4 separate regions of the Homo sapiens genome follow, and regions 1, 2 and 3 are each linked to region 4. The links are contacts of gene promoters, found by promoter capture Hi-C in blood cells and fetal thymus (Javierre and others, 2016). All regions are on one chromosome and are shown on one strand. Each heading gives the region's core, a stretch centred on a gene start or on the middle of the fragment in contact. The rest is flanking DNA. Distances are from core to core; before and after follow the strand shown.

Region 1 (2,700 bases), core at 1-2,500, 280 kb after region 4:
GATAAGATGCCAAGTCTTGTAGTCATATATTCTTCTAAATTGCAACAAAATGAAGAGTTAAGCCTTCTGACACATATTCTTGCAAAGTCTTCTCTTTCATAATTAAGATATTCACAACCAAAAATTATAAAAGCTTATAGCAGATAAAACCTTCCAAATAATTTGTTCTGGCCCATCCTGCTCTAACATTCCTCTTCTCCTCTTAACTGGCTTCATTTGATCCTGGCCCTAGTTAGGTTCTCATTGAGGCCATTTCCTCCCAACTCACTCCCTATATTTCAATACATTGCTTTATCTTCTGCATGTTGTCCCATAACCTAGTTGCATTTTCCTGAGAGAAAATATCCATCGTGTTATTCAAAAATACAGGAAAATTTTACCCTTTTATGAGAACTTATTAGAATGAAGAGCCTCCCTTGGGCATTAGCCCACTGTGAGGGAAAGTTAAAACGTCTAGTTGCTCCCCCAAGTACAGACCATGGCTCCATAGGTGAGGACTCAAAGACCATGAAGAATCACAACTTTACCTGCTCTCTGGGGCTTTACCGAGGCTGGGGACCAGAGTAGACTCTTTGCCCTTGGCCATTGAGATTGAGAAGAAAACCTGCTCAACGTTATCAAATCAGGTCTCCTGAGGCTTCTAAGGGGCAGAGTGAAGTAGCAGGATAAGTTTTTGGCAACAAATCAAGACCCCAATCTCCACTCCATGTTATTTCCAAGCAGCTGTGCGGCCTTTCTGGACCTCAAACCTCAAACCTTTAAAATTAGGGGCTGAACCTCCAGCCTTCAGTTACACATGACAGATTAAAGACTCCCGTGAGTCTCTAATGTTTCCTAAACCTCATGAAAATGACTGCAAAGAGATTTTTTTTAACAAAGAAAATGAAAGCAGGAATGGAAATAAGATAATGAAATTTAGAAGCTGGAAAGCAAATGAACTTAGTTGTCCAAGAAGGCTAAATCCCCAAAATCAGTGAGGAAAGCTGAGAAGCAGCCATGTTTGAACCATTGAACCCTCCGAAGTTCCAGGAATTAGTAGGACTTGGCATCTTTGGAAGTGAGGGTAAAGACAAGGTTGAAAGCAGGGAGATGAAAAGAAAGTCTGTTGGAAAAAATTTTGACTCCAGATCTCTTCCCATCATTACTGACCTGGACATCTGCTCTGACCTATTCAGATAAAACCAGAAGGCTATTTTTTGAAGAGGATTAAACAGAGATGTTGAAGATTTGGGCCATAAAACACAGTTGATGGAAGGGGTACCGTCAGAAAATAGGGGATTGAGTTTAAAGTTGACAACCTGAATGTAGAGAGCCCAAAAAGGACACTAGGAGATCCTTCTCTGAATCATAACCAGCCCAAGAGAAAAGAATTGAAGATAAATCTTGTTCCCAAAAGATCTAGCCCAGCTACAGACCCTAGTATCATGTCCATAGTGAACAAGCCTTCTCTTTATGCCCAGAGCTCCAAGACAGCCTATCAGTACCTCATTATTAAATATGAAGGAAGAGTCAAGAATTACCAGGCAACTTGAGGAAAGCATCTAATATAAAAGACAGACCAAAGCAAATAGAAAAAATAAGGGTTAACCCTTATTAAGCGTATACTGTGAGCTAGGTACTATTCTAAGTACTTTATGTATATTTACACACTTAATCTTCACAATCACCATTTAAGTAAATACTATTATTACATCCATGGAAAAAGTGAAGGAACTGAGGCATGGAGACATTAAGTAACTTGCCCAAGGTCACACTGTAAGCTGAGAAGCTGTCATTCTAAGCTGGCAATCTGTCTCGTGTCTATGTCCTTAACCACTAAGCCTAGAAAATGATAATAATTAATAAAATACAACACACTTGTTAGCAATAGAGACAATTCAAAGAACAGAGTAGTTCACAAAGTAACAATAATATCCCCTGAAAGATAAGAGAAAAAATTGCATCTAAGATACAAGAAAAGAATGCTATAAAAATTGAATATTTGGAGCACTAATAGAGTCTTAGCAATTAAAAATATAGAAACTGAAGTGAAAAACTTGATGGAATGGAAGGCTTCCAGAAATTAAAGCCAGTCATAGGTGGTTTCCCAGCTTCCAAACTTTGCCCACTCCCCTGCCTTCCCCAGCAATTTTCATGGCAATGGGCCAAGTGCTTAATTTTAAACCCTAATTTAGAGCCAAGTCAATTCCTTGTTTAAAACTCTCCATCAAACTCCACTCACATTTAGGAAAAAAATTTACACTCTGCCATGACCTGTGAGGGATTGGGTGATCTGCTGTGTGGCCTCTTCTCCAATGTCAGCTCCGCTCATGCCCTCCTTACTCCAGCCACACTAGCGTCTTACTGTTCCTCATCTCTCCAAGCTTCCCGTCTTGGGACTCTGGACTTGCAAGTTCACTGCTCGGAAAGTTCTCCCAGATATTTGAAGGGCTGGCTTCTTCATCTTGTCAGAGGCATTTGAACCAGAGTCACTCCATCTTGAATAGGGGCTGGGTAAAATAAGGCTGAGACCTACTGGCCTGCATTCCCAAGAGGTTAGGCATTCCTAGTCACAAGATGAAATAGGAGGTCAACCAAAGATACAGGTCACAAAGACCCTGCTGGTAAAACAGGATGCAGTAAAGAAACCAGCCAAAACCTACCAAAACCAAGATGGTGATGAAAGTGACCTCTGGTCATCCTCACTGCTTAGTTCATTAC
Region 2 (2,714 bases), core at 194-2,693, 260 kb after region 4:
AGGATTTGCTGAAGATGTGGAGTTACATTGAACAGTGCACGTCTCTCTACCATCTCACATGTTCCTTTCTACCTTTTTCCTTCTTTCAGCAGGAGTTGGGAAGGCTGCTGGAAGACAGCCAACTTTAGTAGCTGAGTAAAGACTAGAGTTCCAGCCATCTTCAAAGCACCACCAGGAGAGGAGTTGAGTGAGGAGAGGTACCAGTGGCAATGGCATGGCGGTGGTTCTTGGAAAAGGACTGTACCTCTGAAGCACTGTCAGCAGCAAAAAGGGAAGTGTTACTGCAGGAGGAAGGAGCAGCTACAATAGTCAATTCACCCAGCTCCCTAAGATGAGAGATTTGGAAGGATGAGATGAAGTCAGCCCACACTGGCACTGGTCACACATCTGTTTATTGGAAGAAGTGCACCTTCTCTCTTAGTGCAGGATTTTGGCATAGGTGCAAAGATAGCTTCACTGTTTTTATTTTTGAAGAACATGAATATTATAATTGCCTCTGCTCTGTGGCATAAACTCTAAATAATGCCTCCTGACTTAAAGAAAAACAGACAACTTAATAGTCATTAAAAACAATTTAAGATAATTCAACTACATTCCATCTCTCTTTTTTTTTTTTTTTTGAGACGGAGTCTTGCACTGTTGCCCAGGCTGGAGTGCAGTGGTGCAATCTCAGCTCACTGCAAGCTCCGCCTCCCAGGTTCACACCATTCTTCTTCCTCAGCCTCCCGAGTAGCTGGGACTACAGGCACCCACCACCATACCCAGCTAATCTTTTGTATTTTTAGTAGAGACGGGGTTTCACCATGTTAGCCAGGATGGTCTCGATCTCTTGACCTCATGATCCACCCATCTCAGCCTCCCAAAGTGCTAGGATTACAGGCATGAGCCACCATGCCCGGCCATATTCCATTTCTTAAGGATTCACCTACTCAACCCATAGTCAAATGTCTTGTCCTCTCTTCTAGTTTATCCCTTCTCAATATCTTCCATGTAGATGGAAGTGACTTGAGACTATTCTCTTTTGCATTCTCAACTCCTAAGTTAATACTCCCTGAAATCTATCCTACTGGGTTCTTCTGGACTCCATCTCATTCCTAGATTTATTGTAATTTTTCTTTCATTTCCAGTATAAATTCTCTAGCTAACACTTCTCCTCTTGTCCAATAAACTAGACCTCATAATAATAAAAATGACCACCAAGGAGAGTAGAATAGAGGAGAGAGAAGGAAGGTAGGAAGGATAGGATAGTGTAAGGGAAGTACCAAGTTAACAATGCTAGAATTTCCAGAATGTTCTTTATGGGCAAAGGGAGGGTCAGAGATTATGAGTGCTTATGCATTATTTGATTTTGTCTGTATTGTTCAAGGAAAATGAAATTTCTTTGAAAAATTCAAAGTATTTTTTGATAGGGAGGAAACACTTCTCCATCACCTTTGTGTCTAGGTAAAGAGCTTCATTGAAAAAATAAAAATATAACAGAAACTTATAGTGGGATTTTCTGAGGTTGGCACTAACAGATGTCTGTGGCCTCTGTCCACTAGAGCTATTTGAGCAGACCCTTACTGCCAGAAGAGACCACTGTAATGAAAACCTTAGTTAGTCCTCTTGGAATTATGTGGACTAAAGTGAAATTATTGAGCAAGGGGTCTAGGGACTTTGAGTGGACTGATGACTCCAAGGAGGGTCTGGCCTCCTGTCATTTGCTTTCTGCCTCTCAAATTTTGATAGCATATTTATACAACTGTCCAGAGCTACCATTCCCTCCTGGATAGGAATTTTGCCTGCCAGGTACCAGTGAAAAATGAGGACGAGACCTCTGGCCCCAGCTATTGGCAGAGAGTCAGGCTTATTGGTGTACTCCTGCTGGCTGGAGCATCACTGAGAGCTCACAGGCCACGTGCTGAGAGAACATCACCCTCAGCAGCACATTTGTCAGAAAGCTGTTCTCACCTGGACACCTGAATCCATTACAGGCTTTCCCCAAACCCAGCAACACTGGAGACCTGGCTTCTCTCTACAAATACTCTACCCTTCGAAATCTCAGTCTAGTGAACAAACCTTTTTCTCCATGCAGAGTCCAGGCCAGGTGTGTTGGGAACATAAGCCCCTGTCAAACACCTCATTGTACCTCCATCTGCAGAAGAGAAGCATGTTTTCCTGACCTTCCGCTGGTAATCACCATGTTTTGGGATGCATGGTTTTTCATTTTAGACATTGATGTCAATTTCAAACAAGTTATATTCCTACCACACTCCTAACAAACCATATTTTAAATTAACATGCAATATTCAGATTTTAAAGCAAAAGTGCAAGCTAAAATATTAACCTGTTAATTGGTTAATAGTTATAAGGCCTAATGACACCTTTGAATCAAAAGATATACTGTATTCTGCTTCATTTTGCAACAATACTAGGAGGTAAGAAACACTGACTATTTCCTGGGTGTCAGGTACACAGTACCTTATTTCATCTAATCCATGGTCAGCTCCTCTTTGGCTCTCGGTACTGAGGATGAGTTCTGGTCCCAGAGACCAGAGACAGCAGAGAAGACACAAAGTAACCACAGGCCTTTTTCCATTTCAGTTGGTAATACACCTCTTCGTTATGAGAGTTAATGCAAATGAGCACAATCTAAATGAAGCCCCGCGGAATTACTCAGAAAGGGGAAGGCAATGCAAGATTTCCAAAGGAGTCTTGCAGAGAGAAACAGGAGA
Region 3 (2,700 bases), core at 66-2,565, 310 kb after region 4:
CCCAGAATTCCCACGTATTGTGGGAGGGACCCAGGGGAAGGTAATTGAATCATGGGAGCCTGTTTTTCCCATGCTATTCTCGTGATAGTGAATAAGCCTGACGAGATCCTGTGGGTTTATCAGGGGTTTCCACTTTTGCTTCTCCCTCAGTTTCCTCTTGATGCTACCACGTAAGGAATGCCTTTCACCTCCTGCCTTGATTCTGAGGCCTCCCCAGTCATGTGGAACTGTAAGTCCAATTAAACCTCCTTTTGTTCCCAGTTTCCGGTATGTCTTTATCAGCAGTGTGCAAGTGAACTAATACACAGGGTCTCAAAGGCATGTTTGTACATCCATGTTCATAGCAGCATTATTCACCATAGCGAAAACATGGAAACAATCCAAATGTCCATCAATGATGAAGGGACAAACAAAATGCTCCACATACACACATACACTCACATGGGAACTTCCAAAAGTTTGTGGGAAAATGGAATTAAAAGATAAAAATACATAAACTTTAGCTCTCAGCATAAGCTCCATCACGTTCAAGATGCTTTTGTAATGATGGCAGACATTTAGTCCATCTCTAAAGGACTAAGGATCCTGGGAATTTTTCTATTTTATTTATTTATTTTTATTTTTTTGTTAAAACAGGGTCTGGCTAGGTTGCTCAGGCTGGTCTCAAACTCCTGGCCTCAAGCAATCCTCTCACCTCAGCCTCCCAAAATGCTGGGATTACAAGCATGAGCCACCAGGCCTGGCATGGGTCCTGGGAACTTAACCATGTCAATGAAGCCCTTTTTTTTTACATTATTAACGTAAGAAAAATAGCTGCTCCTTAAAGACTTTTTAAGATTAGGAAATGAAGTCAGAAAGAGCCAAATCAGGATGGTAAGAAGGATGGCTAATAATTGCCCTTGTTCAATTAGAGGAATGAGCAGTAGTATTGTCATGGTGGAGAAGGACTCTTTGGTGGAGCTTTTTCAGGCATTTTTTCTGCTAAAGCTTTGGCTAATTTCTCAAAATACCCTCATAATAAGCAGATATTTCATTCTTTGGCCCTCTACAGAAAATCACATGCAAAATACTGTGAGCATCCCCCAAAAACTATTGCTATGACCTTTGCTCTTGATTAGTTTGCTTTTGCTTTGTCTGAACCACTTCCACCTCTTGGTAGCCATTGCTTTGATTGTGCTTTGTCTTCTGGATCACACTTGTAAAGCCTGTTTTTTCTGTTATTACAGTTCTTCAAAGAAATCTTTCATGATCTTGATCCCGCTTGTTTCGTATTTCCATTGAAAGCTCTATTCTTGTCTACAGCTGATCTGGTCACAACAATTTTGGCACCCATCAAGTGGAAAGTGTGCTCAACTTTAATCTGCCAGTCAGAAATGAGTAAGTTCAACCAACTGAGGTGTCTGTGGTGTTGGTTATGTTTATGCTGTTAATCATCAGTCCTCTTCAATTAGGGCATGAATAAGGTTAATTTTTTTCTCACAAATTATGTGGATGGTCTGCTGCTGCAGACTTCATCTTCAACATCCTCTCGTCCCTTCCTGAAATGAGTATCCACTTGTAAACCGCTGATATCTTTGGGTCATTGCCCACAAAAAGCTCTTCGTAAAGTATCAGTGATTTCACCATTCTTCCACCCAAGCTTCACCATAAATTTCATGTTTGCCGTTGCTTCAATTTTTCAGAATTCATGTTCCTCTGAGAGGGGCTCTTTTCAAACTGATATCTTATCCTTCTTAGTGACTCAAACTAGATCCTGTTCAGACATGTTGTAACAAATGAGTACGAGTTTATTTGGGTGCAAACAAAAATTGAAATCCATGCTTACTTTTTTCATAATATGCATGCTCCCCAAATTTTTGAAGCCCCTTCATGTGTATGTGTGTGCGTATATACACAGAATGCAATATTATTCAGCCTTCAAATGGAATGAAATTCTGACACATGCTACAACACGGATATACCTTGAAGACATTGTGCTAAGTGAAATAAGCCAGTCACAAAAGACAAATACTATATGATTCCACTTACATGAGGTAGCTAGAGTAGTCAAATTCATAGAGACAAAAAGTAGGATGATGGTTGCCTAGGTCTTGGGGAAGAAGGAATGGGGAGCTATTGTTTAATTGGTACAAAGTTTCAGTTTTGCAAAATGAAAATAATTATGAAGATGGAGAGTGGTAATGGTTGCACAACAATCTGAATGTACTTAATACCACTGAACTGTATATGTAAAAACTGTTACAATGGTAAATATTTTTTTTCACTTTACCACAATGAGAAAATGGGGAAAAAAGGAATGGTGTACTGACACATGCTACAACATGGGTGAATCTTGAAAACATGATGCTAAATTAAATAAGCCTATCATAAAAAACAAATATTGAATGATTCCACATATATAAGATACCTAAAATAGGCAAATTCATAAAGTCAGAAGGTAGAATGATTGTTACCAAGGGATGAGGGGGAGGGGGAATAGGAGATTATTATCTGATGGGTTCAGAGTTTCCGTTTGGGATGATGAAAAAGTTCTGGCAATGGATAGTGGTGATGGTTGCACAACATTGTCAATGCATTAATGTCACTGAATTGTAACTTAAACAGTTAACATGGTGAATTTTATGTTATGTGTATTTTACATATGCAGCCATGCATCACTTAGCAATGAGGATATGTTCTGAGAAATGCATCATTAGGCAA
Region 4 (2,700 bases), core at 143-2,642:
TTTACATCCACCCCCACTGAACAGCCAGGGTAGGGAGATTCCAGTGAACTAGGTAACCCTTAACTTGCCCAGATGTCTACTTTTTGAGAACCCCATTTTTGTTTAAAGCTGCTAAAGTTAGAAAGTTGTTTCAGCTATAGAACAAGGCCATTATTTATGTTATCTCTTTGTTTACTGTGGTGATTCTCAATATTTTACAATTTTGCAATTTACTGGGGTTTTTTGTTTTGTTTTGTTTTGAGATGGAATCTTGCTCTATCACCCAGGCTGGAGTGCAGTGGCATGATCTTGGCTCACTGCAACCTCTGCCTCCCGGGTTCAAGCAATTCTCCTGCCTCAGCCTCCTGAGTAGCTGGGACTACAGGCGAGCACCATCACGCCTGGCTAATTTTTTTGTACTTTTAGTAGAGACGGGGTTTCACCATAGTAGAGACGGGGTTTCACCATGTTGTCCAGGCTGGTCTCAAACTTCTGACCTCAGGTGATCTGCCCGCCTTGGCCTCCCAAATTGCCGGGGTTACAGGCATGAGCCACTGCGCCCAGCCGCAGTTTATTGTTTTTGTTGTTGTTGTTGTTTGTTTTGTTTTTAAATTTCCCTTCCTGAGTTCATGATTATACCCTGACACTAACTAGCCATTTCTAATTGTCATGTTAAAAAAATTACACAAATTAAACTTTATTCTCTTTCTCTCTCTTTTTTTTTTTTTTCAATCTAAGAATTTCTTAATACTCTGCAAGATAACTAGAGGTCTCTAACTTACAGTTTTGTGCAGTTTTGGGCGAAGCTTAATGTAAAAATTTGGTTAAACTTGGTAATTGGGGAGAATGCTTTCTGAGTCTTGTTCCTCATTAATTTCTGGAAATTGACACCAAATCTAAAGGGAAGAACGAAGAAAGTCCTAGGCTGTTTGTTCTCCAAGCAGGCCTCCCCAGCCACTGTCTTGGCACCCCGTCTCATATCCGTTCCCTCTGTGGAAGAATTCAGCCAGCAGAACAGTGGTGAAAAGACATTGAGTTGGGGCCCAACTCAGGCCTTAAGGAAGCACTCTTCCTTTAGGAGGAGATGTTAGAAGTTTGTCCTTGTAGAGCTATAAAATGTATGCATAGAACAAGCATCATGCAATATTTTTAAAGGGTGGAAATTAAAATGTCAAGTGCAGCATAGTACAAATAGCAGGGAATATTTACAGAGTGACCAAGTGGTGAATTTTCATTACTGACTAATGAACTTCATTGATATCAGGTATGTGGTTGGATCTCAATTCTGATAAAGGAGTTTGCTAGGGTGTGTCAGAGATATAGACATGGTCTTTTCCAAAGTGATCATTTGAAAAAGAGATATCCACATCTTCAAGCCCATATAAAGGATAGAAGCTGCACAGGGCAGCTTTACTTACTCCAGCACCTTCCTCTCCCAGGCAAAATGAAAATACTTGTGAGTATTTGTTTCTGCTTCTTGATACTCTTGTGGTGACTGCTTGCAGACAATGCTCATATCTAATATGCCATGGATTTTGGGAGTCTTAGACAGATACTGTGCATGCTTCTAAGCTTCTGTGATTGAATTAATGACATCTTTGGCAGAAATAGTGTTGAATAAGTCTGACTTTTTTTGTCCTTTTCCTGTTTTGAGATGTTTACTTAAAAGAAAATTCAAAAATACAAAGAAATCTCTAGATAATTTTGATTTGGAGGATGTTTAATAATAATCCTTTATTATGAGCTTCATAGGGAATTTGGGCTATTTAAAACAACTACATTTGCTATCTAAGAGAGAAGCTGTAGTTTAAAAATAATATCAGTAATAGTAATAATAGTACCTCTCATTTCTCAAATGCATACTAAGCCTTAGACTAAGCATATCACATGAATAATTTCATCTATTCATTGCAACAACCCTATGAGTTGAGTAGTATTCTCCCCGTTTTACAGATAAGGAGACTGAGAGGCAGAGGAATGTGATTTTCCCAAGCCCGTAAATGTGGGATTTAGAATGTAATTTATCCATCTGAATCCCCACTTGCAGGCGCAATCATGGCAAATTTAAGCAGCCAGAGTGTCTTCAATGTCCTCTCATTATGACTAAATTCTCCCTTAGGACAAAACGTTCCTTCTATGGCCACTCCACCCCTCCATCTGATCCCAGCCTCCGTAGTTCCACATTGCAGTGCCCCATGGACAGTGGGCTATGTTCTGACCTAGAATGGAATTCGCTCCCCTAGTCTCTGTCCTTTATTCTCATTCAGCTGCTAAGGGAGAAAGCAAAATGTTAAGTACCTCTTTCTAAAGTGTTAAAGACTATCAGCTTAAAGAGCTCCCTCTCTCAGGGCTGTCTTGATTTTCCAAATTGAGACCTAACCCTGAAGCACAAAAGTATTATATAACCATGGTGTATTAACCACAGTGTTGGAAGGGAGATCATTTTGGGGCAGAGGACACTCCCCAAGCTCTCTCTAATCATACCATTAAAGTGGTTTAGTCCTTCGACTACTTGTTCAAACCACTATTTTAGACTCATTAACTAGAATATACGGGAGTATCATATGTTGCTGGAGCTGGTCTGTGGTAAGAGAAGATGTATCCCTATGGAAGGCTGAATATCAGCACACAGGTCTTTGTTAGATGCTCTACTCCCAGTCCCCAGAAGAGAAATATTAAGGGTGGGATGGAAAGGGAAGTAGGAAAGTCCCACTGACAGTT

Evidence for each region. The method cuts DNA at HindIII sites, captures the fragments that hold promoters and counts their contacts. A CHiCAGO score of 5 or more calls a contact.
Region 1: a contact is called between a fragment that was not itself captured here and the fragment with the promoter of GKN2 in region 4, in 5 of 17 cell types (activated CD4 T cells, non-activated CD4 T cells, naive CD4 T cells and 2 more). The highest score is 7.4, in activated CD4 T cells.
Region 2: a fragment that was not itself captured here is called in contact with the fragment with the promoter of GKN2 in region 4 in 7 of 17 cell types (activated CD4 T cells, non-activated CD4 T cells, total CD8 T cells and 4 more); the score reaches 11.0 in activated CD4 T cells.
Region 3: a contact is called between a fragment that was not itself captured here and the fragment with the promoter of GKN2 in region 4, in 5 of 17 cell types (total CD8 T cells, activated CD4 T cells, non-activated CD4 T cells and 2 more). The highest score is 6.3, in total CD8 T cells.

Annotation. Positions count from the first base shown.
Region 1 is chr2:68,671,936-68,674,635 of GRCh38, reverse strand. No RefSeq gene overlaps it. Among named protein-coding and RNA genes, the nearest start is that of PROKR1, 30 kb to the right of the region's middle. The HindIII fragment of the contact is 2,230 bases long and covers 136-2,365 here.
Region 2 is chr2:68,690,284-68,692,997 of GRCh38, reverse strand. No RefSeq gene overlaps it. Among named protein-coding and RNA genes, the nearest start is that of ARHGAP25, 43 kb to the left of the region's middle. The HindIII fragment of the contact is 3,397 bases long and covers 1-2,714 here.
Region 3 is chr2:68,639,800-68,642,499 of GRCh38, reverse strand. No RefSeq gene overlaps it. Among named protein-coding and RNA genes, the nearest start is that of PROKR1, 2.4 kb to the left of the region's middle. The HindIII fragment of the contact is 652 bases long and covers 990-1,641 here.
Region 4 is chr2:68,951,585-68,954,284 of GRCh38, reverse strand. GKN2 (gastrokine 2) reads left to right here and starts at 1,392. Exons shown (of 6, transcript NM_182536.3): 1 at 1,392-1,435. The coding sequence starts at 1,424. The HindIII fragment of the contact is 766 bases long and covers 788-1,553 here.